4 separate regions of the Homo sapiens genome follow, and regions 1, 3 and 4 are each linked to region 2. Evidence: promoter capture Hi-C in 16 types of primary human blood cells and fetal thymus (Javierre and others, 2016). All regions are on one chromosome and are shown on one strand. Each heading gives the region's core, a stretch centred on a gene start or on the middle of the fragment in contact. The rest is flanking DNA. Distances are from core to core; before and after follow the strand shown. Region 1 overlaps TMCC1 (transmembrane and coiled-coil domain family 1). Region 2 holds the start of PLXND1 (plexin D1). Region 3 overlaps TMCC1 (transmembrane and coiled-coil domain family 1). Region 4 overlaps TMCC1 (transmembrane and coiled-coil domain family 1).

The links. The method cuts DNA at HindIII sites, captures the fragments that hold promoters and counts their contacts. A CHiCAGO score of 5 or more calls a contact.
Region 1: a fragment that was not itself captured here is called in contact with the fragment with the promoter of PLXND1 in region 2 in 5 of 17 cell types (M2 macrophages, M1 macrophages, M0 macrophages and 2 more); the score reaches 9.7 in M2 macrophages.
Region 3: a fragment that was not itself captured here is called in contact with the fragment with the promoter of PLXND1 in region 2 in 4 of 17 cell types (M2 macrophages, M0 macrophages, endothelial precursors and 1 more); the score reaches 7.9 in M2 macrophages.
Region 4: a contact is called between a fragment that was not itself captured here and the fragment with the promoter of PLXND1 in region 2, in 5 of 17 cell types (M2 macrophages, M0 macrophages, M1 macrophages and 2 more). The highest score is 18.1, in M2 macrophages.

Annotation. Positions count from the first base shown.
Region 1 is chr3:129,809,223-129,812,524 of GRCh38, reverse strand. The region is part of intron 4 of TMCC1 (transmembrane and coiled-coil domain family 1); the gene reads left to right. Among named protein-coding and RNA genes, the nearest start is that of TMCC1, 83 kb to the left of the region's middle. The HindIII fragment of the contact is 375 bases long and covers 1,433-1,807 here.
Region 2 is chr3:129,605,131-129,608,451 of GRCh38, reverse strand. It overlaps PLXND1 (plexin D1), which reads left to right and starts at 1,776. Exons shown (of 36, transcript NM_015103.3): 1 at 1,776-3,123. The coding sequence starts at 1,813. RefSeq lists enhancers at 1-554, 555-1,547, 2,540-3,321 and silencers at 1,448-1,607, 1,758-1,817. The HindIII fragment of the contact is 18,333 bases long and covers 1-3,321 here.
Region 3 is chr3:129,792,221-129,795,451 of GRCh38, reverse strand. The region is part of intron 4 of TMCC1 (transmembrane and coiled-coil domain family 1); the gene reads left to right. Among named protein-coding and RNA genes, the nearest start is that of TMCC1, 100 kb to the left of the region's middle. RefSeq lists an enhancer at 1-1,149. The HindIII fragment of the contact is 693 bases long and covers 1,295-1,987 here.
Region 4 is chr3:129,835,645-129,838,626 of GRCh38, reverse strand. The region is part of intron 2 of TMCC1 (transmembrane and coiled-coil domain family 1); the gene reads left to right. Among named protein-coding and RNA genes, the nearest start is that of TMCC1, 57 kb to the left of the region's middle. The HindIII fragment of the contact is 3,955 bases long and covers 1-2,982 here.

The DNA.
Region 1 (3,302 bases), core at 371-2,870, 200 kb before region 2:
TATCTTGAACAGGGGTATTAAAAGTGAAATCTCAGTACCAGAGATTTGATTTGAGTATTGTGGATGTGATTGTAGTCCTACAGAGTACCAGCTTAAGTTTCTTTGTTATAGTTGTGGTGTTCTTCTTTCCTCTTTTACATAATGCCCTGTTTTTTTCTCATTGGCTTTTTTTTTTTTTTTTTTTTTTTGAGACAGAGTCTTGCTCTGTTGCCTAGGCTGGAGTGCAGTGGCGTGATCTCACTGCACCCTCCACCTCCCAGATTCAAGTGATTCTTCTGCCTCAGCTTCCCAAGAAGCTGGGATTACAGGTGCGTGCCACCACATCTAGCTAATTTTTGCATATTTAGCAGAGATGGAGTTTCACTGTGTTGGCCAGGCTGATCTTGATTTCCTGATCTCAGGTGATTTGCCCACCTTGGCCTCCCAAAGTGCTGGGATTATAGGCATGAGCCACCACGCCCAGCCATTTCTCATTGTTAACACAAAGGTAAAAGCCCTTCTGTACTAATGAATCTAAGAGTATTGAATAGTAAGAATCACCAAAACTTGATTTCTTTCTTTCTTTTTTTTTTTTTTAAATTGAGGCAGAGTCTTGCTCTGTCACCCAGGCTGGAGTGCAGTGGCACAACCTGGGCTCACTGCAACCTCCGCCTACTGGGTTCAAGTGATTCTCCTTCCTGAGCCTCCTGAGTAGCTGGGATTACAGGCGCATGCCACCACGCCCAGCTAAGTTTTGTATTTTTAGTAGAGACAGGGTTTCGCCATGTTGGCCAGGCTGGGCTCGAACCCCTGACCTCAGGTGATCTGCCCACCTCAGCCTCCCAAAGTGCTGGGATTACAGGTATGAGCCACTGCACCTGGCCCAAAACTTGATTTCTTTTTTAAAAAAATGCATAGTCTTGCATTTATTGAAGATTTGCTGAGAAAATTCCCATCTCAGGATCACTTTTCTCAAATGGTTGGACACAGTGGCTCATGCCCCTAATCCCAGCACTTTGGGAGGCTGATGTGGGAGGATCACTGGAGCCAGGAGTTCAAGACCAGCCTGGGCAACACAGTGAGACCCCTGTCTCTACAAGAAATTTTAAAAAAAACAGCCAGGTGTGGTGGCACACACCTGTAGTCCAAGCTACTTGGGAGGCTGAGGCAGGAGGATCACTTGAGGCCAAGAGTTGAGGTTACAGGGAGCTGTTGACTGTGCCACTGCAGTCCAGTCTGGGCAACAGAGTGATATCCTATCTCTAAAAAATTAAAAATAATATATAAAATGAATGGCCATGAAAGTGAGCATCCTAATTCTGATCTATTTGTTTCTGAGCATTTCTTTGTAAGCTTAACAATGGAGTAGTGCATCAGAGTAACTGATCAATATAACCTTCCCCATGTGGATGCTCTGAGGAATACGCTTTAGAATTTTAGTGATATAGAAGCTTATTTAGAAGAACATACACAGTCTTAGGGAGCATACTCTTGGTTTATTAATTAAAAAAACTCATATGTTAAGCAGCTGTGCAAATGCACATTTAAATAACCATTTTACCATAGGATAGGACTAGAATACCTTAAACATTGTTTTCTGCCTTAAGCTCACCACAGGCTTTCCAATAACATTAAACTTGTTTCAACAGTTGTAGATGTTCAAGACACAGCTATACATTCTTCTAGGTGAAAGAACAGTATCCAGGTTTTCTGCTCCATAGAATTGTTATTTTCTATAAAAATGCAAAACACCTGAAGGAAACAATTTACCTAATTTTGTTGTTGTAAATGTGATTGCTTATGAATTGAAACATTGCTTTGATAAGCTTCCTTCCATATTCGTTGATGTCATACATTGTCTTTATATTATATAATTTGTGATGAGTTATACCATAGAATCAAGTTCAGTTTAAGCAGATAAATGCTTGTGAGATTAACATATTCTTCTTAGGAATGTTTGCCCATTGAGCCTTAAGATATAGGGTGAACTTGCTTAAGTTTCTGTACATAAAGATAAAATGCAAGCTGTTTTCTATTGTCAGGAGTTTAGCTTTATGAGAATGAGTATAAAGGTTTTGTGATCCGATTATAGTTCAGGAGGATTTAGGCCACAGTATAAATTACCTGTTTTGGTTCTGCGTACTAGTATGTGATATATGTCTCTTGATTTTTGCTTAGTTTTGTTTTGTTTTTTTTGGGAGACAGTGTCTCTCACTCTGTTGCCCAGTGGTGCAATCTTGGCTCACTGCAACCCCTGCCTCCTGGGTTTAAGTGATTCTCCCACCTCAGCCTCCCTAGTAGCTGGGACTACACGTGCCCGCCACCATGCCCAGCTAATTTTTGTATGTTTTTGTAGAAATGGGGTTTTACCATGTTGCCCAGGCTGGTCTTGAACTTGTGAGCTCAAGCCATCCACCCACCTTGGCCTCCCAAAGTGCTGGGATTACAGGTGTGAGCTACCGCATCCAGCCTGATTTTTGCTCATAGTTCTGTATCAGTATCTTTTGTTGCCTTAGGGTGCAGAGATGTGTGGATTAGTACAGAAATTCAAGACAAGTTTGACTTTCACATGTTGTTTTCATTGTTATGAGGATTTGTAGCTCTAATGTTTTTCTACATAAAATCAGTAAAACTAAATAAAATCAGGGTCCTTATTTAGATGAGTAACTTGCTTTGTCACATCAAGATTAAATGTACTGTTTTAGTGGGATTTACCTAAAAAGAGGTAAAAAAAGAATTGGCTACTACTGAAACCGGGAAAATTGTTTGCAAAATGCATTAATGTTCAGTATGGAAAATACCAAAAGCTATTCTTTTTTGCAGGATTTCAGTACTTTAACTAAATGTTTTTCTATAAATACTGTCTTTACCTCTCTCTCTCTTCTTTTGCACCCTGGAGATTTTTTTTTTCTTCCTGTCAGTTTGTATCTCTTATCATTTACTGTCTGTGGCTTCACAATACTGTATTGTTACAGTACCATTTAAAAAATTACAGCTGGAAGCTCTGAAATGCATCCTGACAAAGGAAGGCTGAATTGTGTGGCTTTAGGCCAACAGTAAGCTACAGGAACAAATGAAATTAAGAAGTTAATATTATTTCAGATATGTGTTTGTGTCCTTAGTCTTACAGAGAATTATTAAAACCAGGAATTTAAAAGTCATATCTGCTTTCCAACACTAGGAGTATGAAACATTTTACTTGCTTGTGAATCTTCTATTTTAAATGTTATTTTTTGTGAACAACTTTCTGTAGATTTATTTAATATAATCTTCCAGAATTTTTTTTTTTTTTTTTTTTTGAGATGGAATCTTGGTCTGTCGCC
Region 2 (3,321 bases), core at 527-3,026:
CCACGGGCAGTCCCCTGAGTGGCTCTTGGTGGGTGGATGGGCCTGGGAGGGGGCCTCCAATTTCCTGCAGCTCAACACTCCCGGCCATCAAAGCAGTGGCCAGACCAGGGCTGAGGGGTCTGGAACAAGGCGGGCAGGATGGCAGGAAGGCGAGGGTGTTGAGGGAAGTGGGGGGCGGCTGCAGGCCCAGCCTTTCCTGCCGGCCCCATGGTGCACAGACACCCCTGCCCTTCCTTCCTGGTTGGGTGGGAAAGAGGAAAATGAGGTCCCGCTACTCTCAGAGTGAGGCCCACCGGGCACCCTGTGGAAGCTGGGGGTCTGATGGGAGGCCCCGTTCTGAGAGGTCGGAGCTGAAGGGCTTTTGCTTTCAAACACTGTAGCTCTGCTCCTCATGAGCTGTGCATCTTGGGCCAGTCCCTTCCCCTCAGCCTTGGTTTCCATATCTGGAAGATGGGTTACCAATAGCGCTCGCCTCGGGGGAATCTGTGAGGAAAAAGAGAGCCCGTACATGGCAAGTGCTTGGCACAGTGTCTGGCACGGGCTAGCCCTGTGTGAGCACCCCCGCAAAACAGCCACGGCGCATGGTCCTCACAGGGCTGTGACCTTGGAACCAGGCTGCCTGCCCCTAACGCTGCTTTTGAGATCAAGAACCCTGCCCAGTGCCGGCTTTTGTGGGACTAATCTTCCACTAAGCCTGGGAGGATGTCAGGGAAAGTGCCTGGCGGGGGTGCCAGGGGTGGGGGTGCGGCTGGGTCTCCACAGGAGGCAACTGTGGGCTCCAGGACCAAGGCCTTGCTCTGGCTATCGGTTGTGGGCCACTGGCTGGAACTATTTCCTCTCTCCATGTTTTCCTCATTTATATATCTGACCCTGAGCACTGGTCCCTCTGGCCCTGCCACTTGTAAATCCCTTTTATGGGTCTGGGGTTTGGGGGACAGATTATGGGGTCTGGGGGGCCCGACTGGCCGGCACCGGGGGAGCGAAGGCCTGGACAGTGCCTGAGAAAGGTGGTGGAGGGAGGCTGAGTGTGGAGGGGAGACACAGGGTTCGGGAAGGCAGAGGGAGAAGGAAAGGGGAGCTCAGAGGGACCGAGAGAGGGACGGAGGGTCCGAGGGGGAGGCAGAGGGAGCCACGGAGAGAGGGAGCGAGCGTCAGGGACGGAAAAACGGAGCAGGAGAGAGAAGGAGACTAGAAAGGGCCGGGGGCGGGGCTGCCAGGGACTGGAGAGCGAAGCGGAGTCGGAGGGAGAAGGAGAAGCAGAGGCAGAACCCGGAGAAGCGCCACACGCGCGGAGTTTGGGGTGGGGACAGAGACGGAGAGACGCAGAGACCGAGAGACGCAGAGAGAGGGAGAGACGGGGTGGGGGAGAGGGCGGAAAAGAGAAAACAGGCGCGAGCGAGGCAGGCCAAGCGGCCAAGTGGGAGGAAAGAGCGAGGAGAGCGAGCGACGGCGGCGGCGGCTACGGGGAGGGACCCTGGGGCCGCGGGCGGGTCCTGGAGGGCGCGGGCGGCGGGACCCGCGGACGGCGGGGCGTGGCCCAGGGCGGCCAGGGGCAGGCGGGGGTCCCGGGGGCGGGCGGGGCCGGGGCGGGGAGTGAGGGCGTGTCCGCAGCGGAGCCGCCCCCGCCCCGCCCCCGGGCTGCGCGGCGAGGCTGACCCGGGCCCGGGCGCCGGGGTCGGGGGCGGCTGGCGCGGGCAGGAAGCGCATCGCGGCCCGGGCCCGCCCCCCGCCTCCCGCCGCCTCCGGGCTCCCGGCTCCCGGCCGCGCCTCGCCCCATGCACTCGCCGCGCCGCGCAGCCCGCGCACGCCCGGATGGCTCCTCGCGCCGCGGGCGGCGCACCCCTTAGCGCCCGGGCCGCCGCCGCCAGCCCCCCGCCGTTCCAGACGCCGCCGCGGTGCCCGGTGCCGCTGCTGTTGCTGCTGCTCCTGGGGGCGGCGCGGGCCGGCGCCCTGGAGATCCAGCGTCGGTTCCCCTCGCCCACGCCCACCAACAACTTCGCCCTGGACGGCGCGGCGGGGACCGTGTACCTGGCGGCCGTCAACCGCCTCTATCAGCTGTCGGGCGCCAACCTGAGCCTGGAGGCCGAGGCGGCCGTGGGCCCGGTGCCCGACAGCCCGCTGTGTCACGCTCCGCAGCTGCCGCAGGCCTCGTGCGAGCACCCGCGGCGCCTCACGGACAACTACAACAAGATCCTGCAGCTGGACCCCGGCCAGGGCCTGGTAGTCGTGTGCGGGTCCATCTACCAGGGCTTCTGCCAGCTGCGGCGCCGGGGCAACATCTCGGCCGTGGCCGTGCGCTTCCCGCCCGCCGCGCCGCCCGCCGAGCCCGTCACGGTGTTCCCCAGCATGCTGAACGTGGCGGCCAACCACCCGAACGCGTCCACCGTGGGGCTAGTTCTGCCTCCCGCCGCGGGCGCGGGGGGCAGCCGCCTGCTCGTGGGCGCCACGTACACCGGTTACGGCAGCTCCTTCTTCCCGCGCAACCGCAGCCTGGAGGACCACCGCTTCGAGAACACGCCCGAGATCGCCATCCGCTCCCTGGACACGCGCGGCGACCTGGCCAAGCTCTTCACCTTCGACCTCAACCCCTCCGACGACAACATCCTCAAGATCAAGCAGGGCGCCAAGGAGCAGCACAAGCTGGGCTTCGTGAGCGCCTTCCTGCACCCGTCCGACCCGCCGCCGGGTGCACAGTCCTACGCGTACCTGGCGCTCAACAGCGAGGCGCGCGCGGGCGACAAGGAGAGCCAGGCGCGGAGCCTGCTGGCGCGCATCTGCCTGCCCCACGGCGCCGGCGGCGACGCCAAGAAGCTCACCGAGTCCTACATCCAGTTGGGCTTGCAGTGCGCGGGCGGCGCGGGCCGCGGCGACCTCTACAGCCGCCTGGTGTCGGTCTTCCCAGCCCGGGAGCGGCTCTTTGCTGTCTTCGAGCGGCCCCAGGGGTCCCCCGCGGCCCGCGCTGCTCCGGCCGCACTCTGCGCCTTCCGCTTCGCCGACGTGCGAGCCGCCATCCGAGCTGCGCGCACCGCCTGCTTCGTGGAACCGGCGCCCGACGTGGTGGCGGTGCTCGACAGCGTGGTGCAGGGCACGGGACCGGCCTGTGAGCGCAAGCTCAACATCCAGGTACACCCGGGCGGTGGCGGCGGCGGCGGCGGCGGCGGCGGCGGGGGCGGGGGCGGGGGCGGGCGGGAACCGAGCGGGTCGTGAGCTGAGTGGGTCACAGGTGGGAGCGCGCAGAGATCCAGATGTACGTGGAACCCAGGTGTGCACGCGAGAATACAGGTGTCCCCCGAGGGGTACTACTGGCGCCTGTATGGCCCA
Region 3 (3,231 bases), core at 392-2,891, 190 kb before region 2:
TGAGTTCTGCCCTAAACAGTACTAAATTCATTCAGAAGTAATGAACAATTCCAAGAGGAGCACATAGACTGGAAAGTTTCATTAAATGAAACGTTATCCTCACAGTGGTTGTCTGGAAGCAGACCCAAACAGAGGAAGAGTGGCAAAGATAGGAATATTTTTATCTTTGGAACTGCTCTTACAGTTATTTTTCATACCTCTTTACCTGCATTGATTCACTCTGAGCTGTTCCTTTTGTTTTGTGTGTAGATTTTAAAAAATTACTTCATTCCAACAAGAGAGGGCAATTACCTCAGGAGGCCACTTTAATGTGTTTAACTTTGGCACAAGTTGAAGTCACCGTCGGAGTATGCCTCTCTGCACCTGACATTCCTTCCTGAGGCAGGACCCCTCCCTGTGAATAAGAGGAAAGGCTTGGCCAATTATGCTAGACAAAGCCGCACAGCTGCCGAGCCCAGCTGGGAGGAGTTTCCTTCTTGAGCAGGGAGCTGGTACAGCCAGGGGCTTGCTTTTCACCACCTCCTTTTTTTTCACACTGCCTCACCTTAAAGGATTACCTAAGGTGGAGGTAGAGAAGGGTGCGTTGCTGTCTGCAGTGGACACTCTCTGCTGCTGGGACGGCTGAAGAGGGGAGGAATTGGTGCAGTTGCCTGTCTCCTACTTGGAGCAGATGCTGTCTGACCCCAGCACACCACTCCTCCTCCCACAGAGACCGGAACATCAGGTCTGTCCTCTGGAGTTTCAGGTAGCACCACAGCGGCATCCTCGCCTACTGGTCTGGTGGAAAGGGAAGGGGTGGTCCTTGTGTTTGGACCCCTCACAGCTGACTCACAGGAAGTGCTAGAAGAGCTTGGCACTGGGCACAGCGGCTTCAGGATTACTGCCCCACCCACCCTGCCCTCTCCCACGTAGGTTTTCCAGTATCTCTTGATAGAACAATGAAGGCTTTCCAAGTTTGCTAAGACTCCCAGGGAAATTCTTTGCACTTCTCTGGCAGTCTTCAAAATGTTCTGCCACCGACTTTCCCAAGAAGCTGTTATTTAAAAAACCCTTCGTGGATTGCTTTGTCTGAAGATCCTCTGGGTGATCATGGTTCAGCGCTTTAGCCTCAGGAGGCAGCTATCCAAGGTGGGTTGGTAGTTTTCTATGTTTGTGGAGGGGAAACTCTCACTTGCTTCAGCATGGTTCCTTTTTCTCTGGAACTGTTCTGTCAAGCCTGCCGTCCTCCAGCGCTAAGGAGGGGCTGAGGGAGGAAGCACTGCCTTTTGTTCTTTTATCTGACAGGCACAAAGCTTGAAGGCTGACTGCACTGGCAGCCCCAGATTGTGTTCCCCTAAAACTGCAGCTGTCATCTGAATTTGGGCAAAGTTGTAGTTTGCTCCTGAGATAGAATTTCCAGAAGGGTGTGTGTGAAAGAGATAATTGTGGGTTGAAAGTGTATATTTAATAAGCAATTAATCTGTCAGCTTGTGGACCAAGAGGAGAAAGCCTTCTTCTCTGTGGAATCAGTGCTTTCATACATTTCACTATTAAACTGAGAAAAACTACCACAAAATAGTTTAATGAGCAAGACTGGCATTAAAATGTTAAAATGAGTGGTTGTGTTGAGAAACTTGAATACTTAATGAAGTATATGAAAAGCAGTTACAGAGAGGCTCACAAAGCAGTTTTTACAGAGTTCTGATGAAAAGCAGGTTCCATGTGTGCAGCTTTTGGGGAAAAGTTTTTTTAACCTGAGAAAATCATACTTAAAATAGTAAAAAGGTGAAGCACGCATTTAAGAGGGGATGGTGATTTATGAAATCCACTCTGCCTGTAGCCAGCCCTCCTTGACCCAGTCATTTAGTGCAGAAACTAATATGGAAAGAGGTGTGGTAAGAGTTGAGCTTTATTTCAAAACCCATTGTGTTCTTTAAAAGCTCCATTTAAAAAATGTAGCAGTTGGTGGCTCAGTTGTGTCACAGTTCATTCCCTGAATACAGAAGCTTAAACAAATAGTAAGTCTGTAGGCATTCTTCACTGCCTTGGCTGTTAATCAGAATTGTTAGATCCTGAAATGTATTGTGATCTTAAGGGAAAACCTTTAGTTCCCTCACAGGTGACCCCAGTGTAGAGTGTGTGCACTGATGCAGAAATGAGCAAAGTGCTTGCTTCCATCCCTGTGTCACATATGCATAGTTTTTCTTGGGACTTCTAAGCCTAACGGGATTTTTAGGAGTATTAAAATATATTTAACTTGCTCCCTTCCCCCCTGCTCCATGGTGTGTGTGTGTGTGTGTGTGTGTTTGAAGGCCTCCACATTTCTCTTACACAATAAAAAGAATCATTTTTGTTGCTCTTTCAATGTCCTCCAGTGCTTGTATTTTCATATATATAGTACATTTAAAAAGCAGATGGGTAGATATCAGGGCAGTGACGTTCCTGCACAAGAGTGTCTGATAGTTGAGAGCCAGGTGATAATTTTCTAATTAGAAGGTAACTATATTATGGGTATTTTGCTGCCAGTACTTCTCTCCCAATTATTTTTTAAACTTTACCCTCTTCACTCTATACTATGTATATGACTGATTTACAAAAAGTACACTTTTGAAGGAATGGGATGCATCCTCTCTTTAGGTACATTACATAAAAACACTCAAAGATGTAGCCTTTTTTCATTCCTTTTCCTGGTACCCTTATTGCTCATTTGAATGTGATTTATGGATCCTATAATGGATGATCTAGACCAAAGCTAAGGAAATTTGTTGTCTATCAGATTTACTGTTCTATCAGAGTAATGAACTGAAAAAATATTTTTAATTATTTCAGTCTGTAAGGCACTTAAATATGAAGGAGAAACCGAATAGTTATGTTAGTGAGTTTAAAAAACAAACTCAGCAAATGGATCAGCGTGGCCAACATAGTGAAACCTCATCTCTACTAAAAATATAAAAATAAACCGGGCATGGTGGTGCGTGCCTGTGGTCCCAGCTACTTGGGAGGCTGACGACGCAGGAGAATCGCTTGAACCCAGGAGGCAGAGGCTGCAGTGAGCTGAGATCATGCCACTGCACTCCAGCCTGGGTGACAGAGCGAGACTCCGTCTTAAAAAAAAATATATCAGCAAATGCATCGTGCCTCTATTTGTCTTTTCAGCTAAATCCATAGGTTACCTGAGAGCCAGGGACCTGCCATACCCCAGTTTATGGTATTTCTGGCACATATTGAACACTCAAAATGAAATCGTTTTTT
Region 4 (2,982 bases), core at 241-2,740, 230 kb before region 2:
CACGCACCACCACACCTGGCTAATTTTTGTATTTTTAGTAGAGACGGGGTTTCACCCTGTTGGTCAGGCTGGTCTCAAACTCCTGACCTTGTGATCTGCCCGTCTCGGCCTCCCAAAGTGTTGGATTACAGGCATGAGCCACCGTGCCCAGCCCCCTTTTTTGGTATTGTTTGGCATTTTCAGTTTCTTTTTCTTTTTTTCTTTTTCTTTTATTTTTTGAGACAGGGTCTTGCCCTGTCATCCAGGCTGGAATGCAGTGGGACGCTCACGGCTCTTTGCAGCCTCGACCTCCAGGGCCCAAGCAGTCCTCCCAGGGCCCAGGCTTCTCAAGTAGCTGGGACCACAGGCATGTGCCATCATTCCCGGCTGATTTTTTTGTTTATTTTTAGGGATGAGGTCTCCCTATGCTGCCCAGGCTGGTCTCCTGGGCTCAAGCCATCCTCCCGCCTCAGCCTTCCAAAGTGCTGGGATTATAGGCATGAGGCACCATGCCCAGCCTGTTTTCAGAGTTTCTTATTGTTACTCTGTAGTTTAGTGTCTTATCACTAATTTCGGTAAGTTCTTGGCCATTCAAATGTTTCTTCTCTGTTGTCTCTTCTTCTGGACTTCTGCCACAGCTGTTGTATGTTCTCCAGGTGGGAAAATCTCTTTTCTCTTTATATTTCAGTTTGGGTAGTTTCTACTAGCCTATTTTCAAGTTTACTGATTCTTTTTTCAGCTGTTTCAAGTCTACTTGATAAGCCTCTCAAAGGCATTTGTCATTACTATGTCTTTATTTCTAATTTGGTTTCCACTTGATTTTTTATAATTTTCATTTATCTCTGAAATTACCTGTCTGATCTCATATGTTGTCTACCTCTTTCATTAGAGTTTTTACTGTATTAATCACGTTCTAATTTACTGTCTTGTAGTTCCAAAATTTATGTCATACGTGGGTCTGGCTCTGATAATTGCTTTGTCCCTTTGAGCTGTGTTTTTATTACTGCCTTTGCCATGCTTCATAATTTTTGTTTAAAGCTGAATGTGCTGTATATGACAGGAGATACTGAGGTATATGCTTGATATGCTTACTGAAGACTGCTAGTTTCCTGCAAGTCCTTTAGGGTGGAGATTTGTGTTAATCTGTTCAGGCATTGGGCTGTGTTTGATGTTTATTATTGCAATGGTTACTGGAGTTGACATTTATTGTTGCCATGGGAACTAGAGGCTTCAAATTTTCCCAGTAATACCTTGTTCTTGTCTTCCTGCTTGGCTTTGGGTTTTCCCTTTGTGCTGTTTCTCCGTGAGAGTCTGAGTCTTGCAGCTTTCTCAGGTGTATTCCATTGTTTTTACTCAAAGCCTGTCAGTTAGTGGAGGGTGAGGGGAGTTCTGTGATGTTCTGGTTAAGCCTCAGATTTATGCAGATAGTAGAACCTGGGTCTTGGGGGTGTGGCCTTCAGAAGACTATTCCCTTCTTTTTCCCAACTGCTATGGGGATTCAATAGTATCCTCAAGCTAAGGTTTTTTTCAGCTCTTTCCGCCTGCATTTAAGGCTATTGCTGTTTTAGAGAAACAGTGAAGATGGATAAGGGTGAAAATTGGGTGTCAGCTTCCTTTCCTTCCTCCAGCTGTAGTGGGATTCCACCAGAAATTGCTCCTTGCTGATTAAGCCTTTTGTTCCACAGGGAGATAAGGGAAATAGGCTGGTTTGGTATTGTTGCTTGCTCTTCCCTCATTAGCTCCACGGGGGTGGAGATGGAGGAGCTTTCTCTACTTCCTCTCTGCTTCCCCCTGCATTAGAGAGCCTTTTGAGGTTCCTGGAGGAAAAGCCCACAAGAGGATGGGAACTCTCCTATGATTGCAGCCCTCGAGGACTTCACACTCTGATTCTAACCTACATTCAGTCTTCAGCAGTTTGTCAGAATTTTTGGTTTAATCTTCCTATCTGCACTGGGATTCTTCCATGCTCTTGGGACTGTTTCCTTTGGTCAGAGACAAGGCTTTTAGGTGCCTGTCTAGCCTTAGCTGTTGCTCCATAAATGTTGTATTGCCTGGAGGCTGGGATAGCAGTAAACAAAAAAGGAAAAAGTGATTTCCTCCCAGCTCTTTTTGAACCTCAGGAATCCACATTGTGGTCAGAGAATATACTGTGTATTATTTCAGTTTTTTTAAAATTTGTGAGACTTGCCTTAGGGTTCAACATATGGTCAATTTTTGTAAATGATCTCTTTCTGCTTGAAAGAGTATATTTTGCAATTATTGGATGCTGTGTCATATTAATGTCTTATTTAGGTCCAGTTTGTTCATGCTATTCAAATCTATATTTCTACCCTCTCCCTTTATTTGAGTCATTTGTTCTATCACCTACTGAGAAGAATACAAAATTTATTATGATTATGGATTTTTTCTCCCACTTCTCTTTATAATTCTGCTGTTTTGCTTTATATATTTGGAGGCTATGTTATTACATGCATACAAATTTAAAATTGTTGCATCTTCCTGATAAATTATACCTTTATAGGTATTAATGGCTTTTGTGCATTGAAGTCTACTTTGAATACAATTAATACAGCTAGAGCAGCTGTGTTTCAGTTTGTTAGTATGACTTTTTCCCATACTTTGAACTATTTTCTGTAATTTTAAGTGTGATTCTTGATTAATTTTTTTTTAAAAATTGATTTTTGTCATCTGGTCCAATTACATTTAATGTAATTACTGAGTTATTTGAATTTATGTTTGACATCTTATATTTTGCTGCTTAAATATGTTTTATTTGTTCTGTAATCTTGTTCTCTCTTCTTTTTTGGATTTGAGTATTTTAATTCTTTCTCCTTTCTATTTAGTGTGTTTGTTTTCCCTCTGGAGTAACATTAGTTACCAGTTACCTGTCCACCATTCCAGAATGAAATAGTCTGTGCATATGCAGTATGTACTCACTCCTTTAAAAGTAGTAGCATGATATATACATGGTTCTGCACTTTGGATTTTTTAAATAAATACACT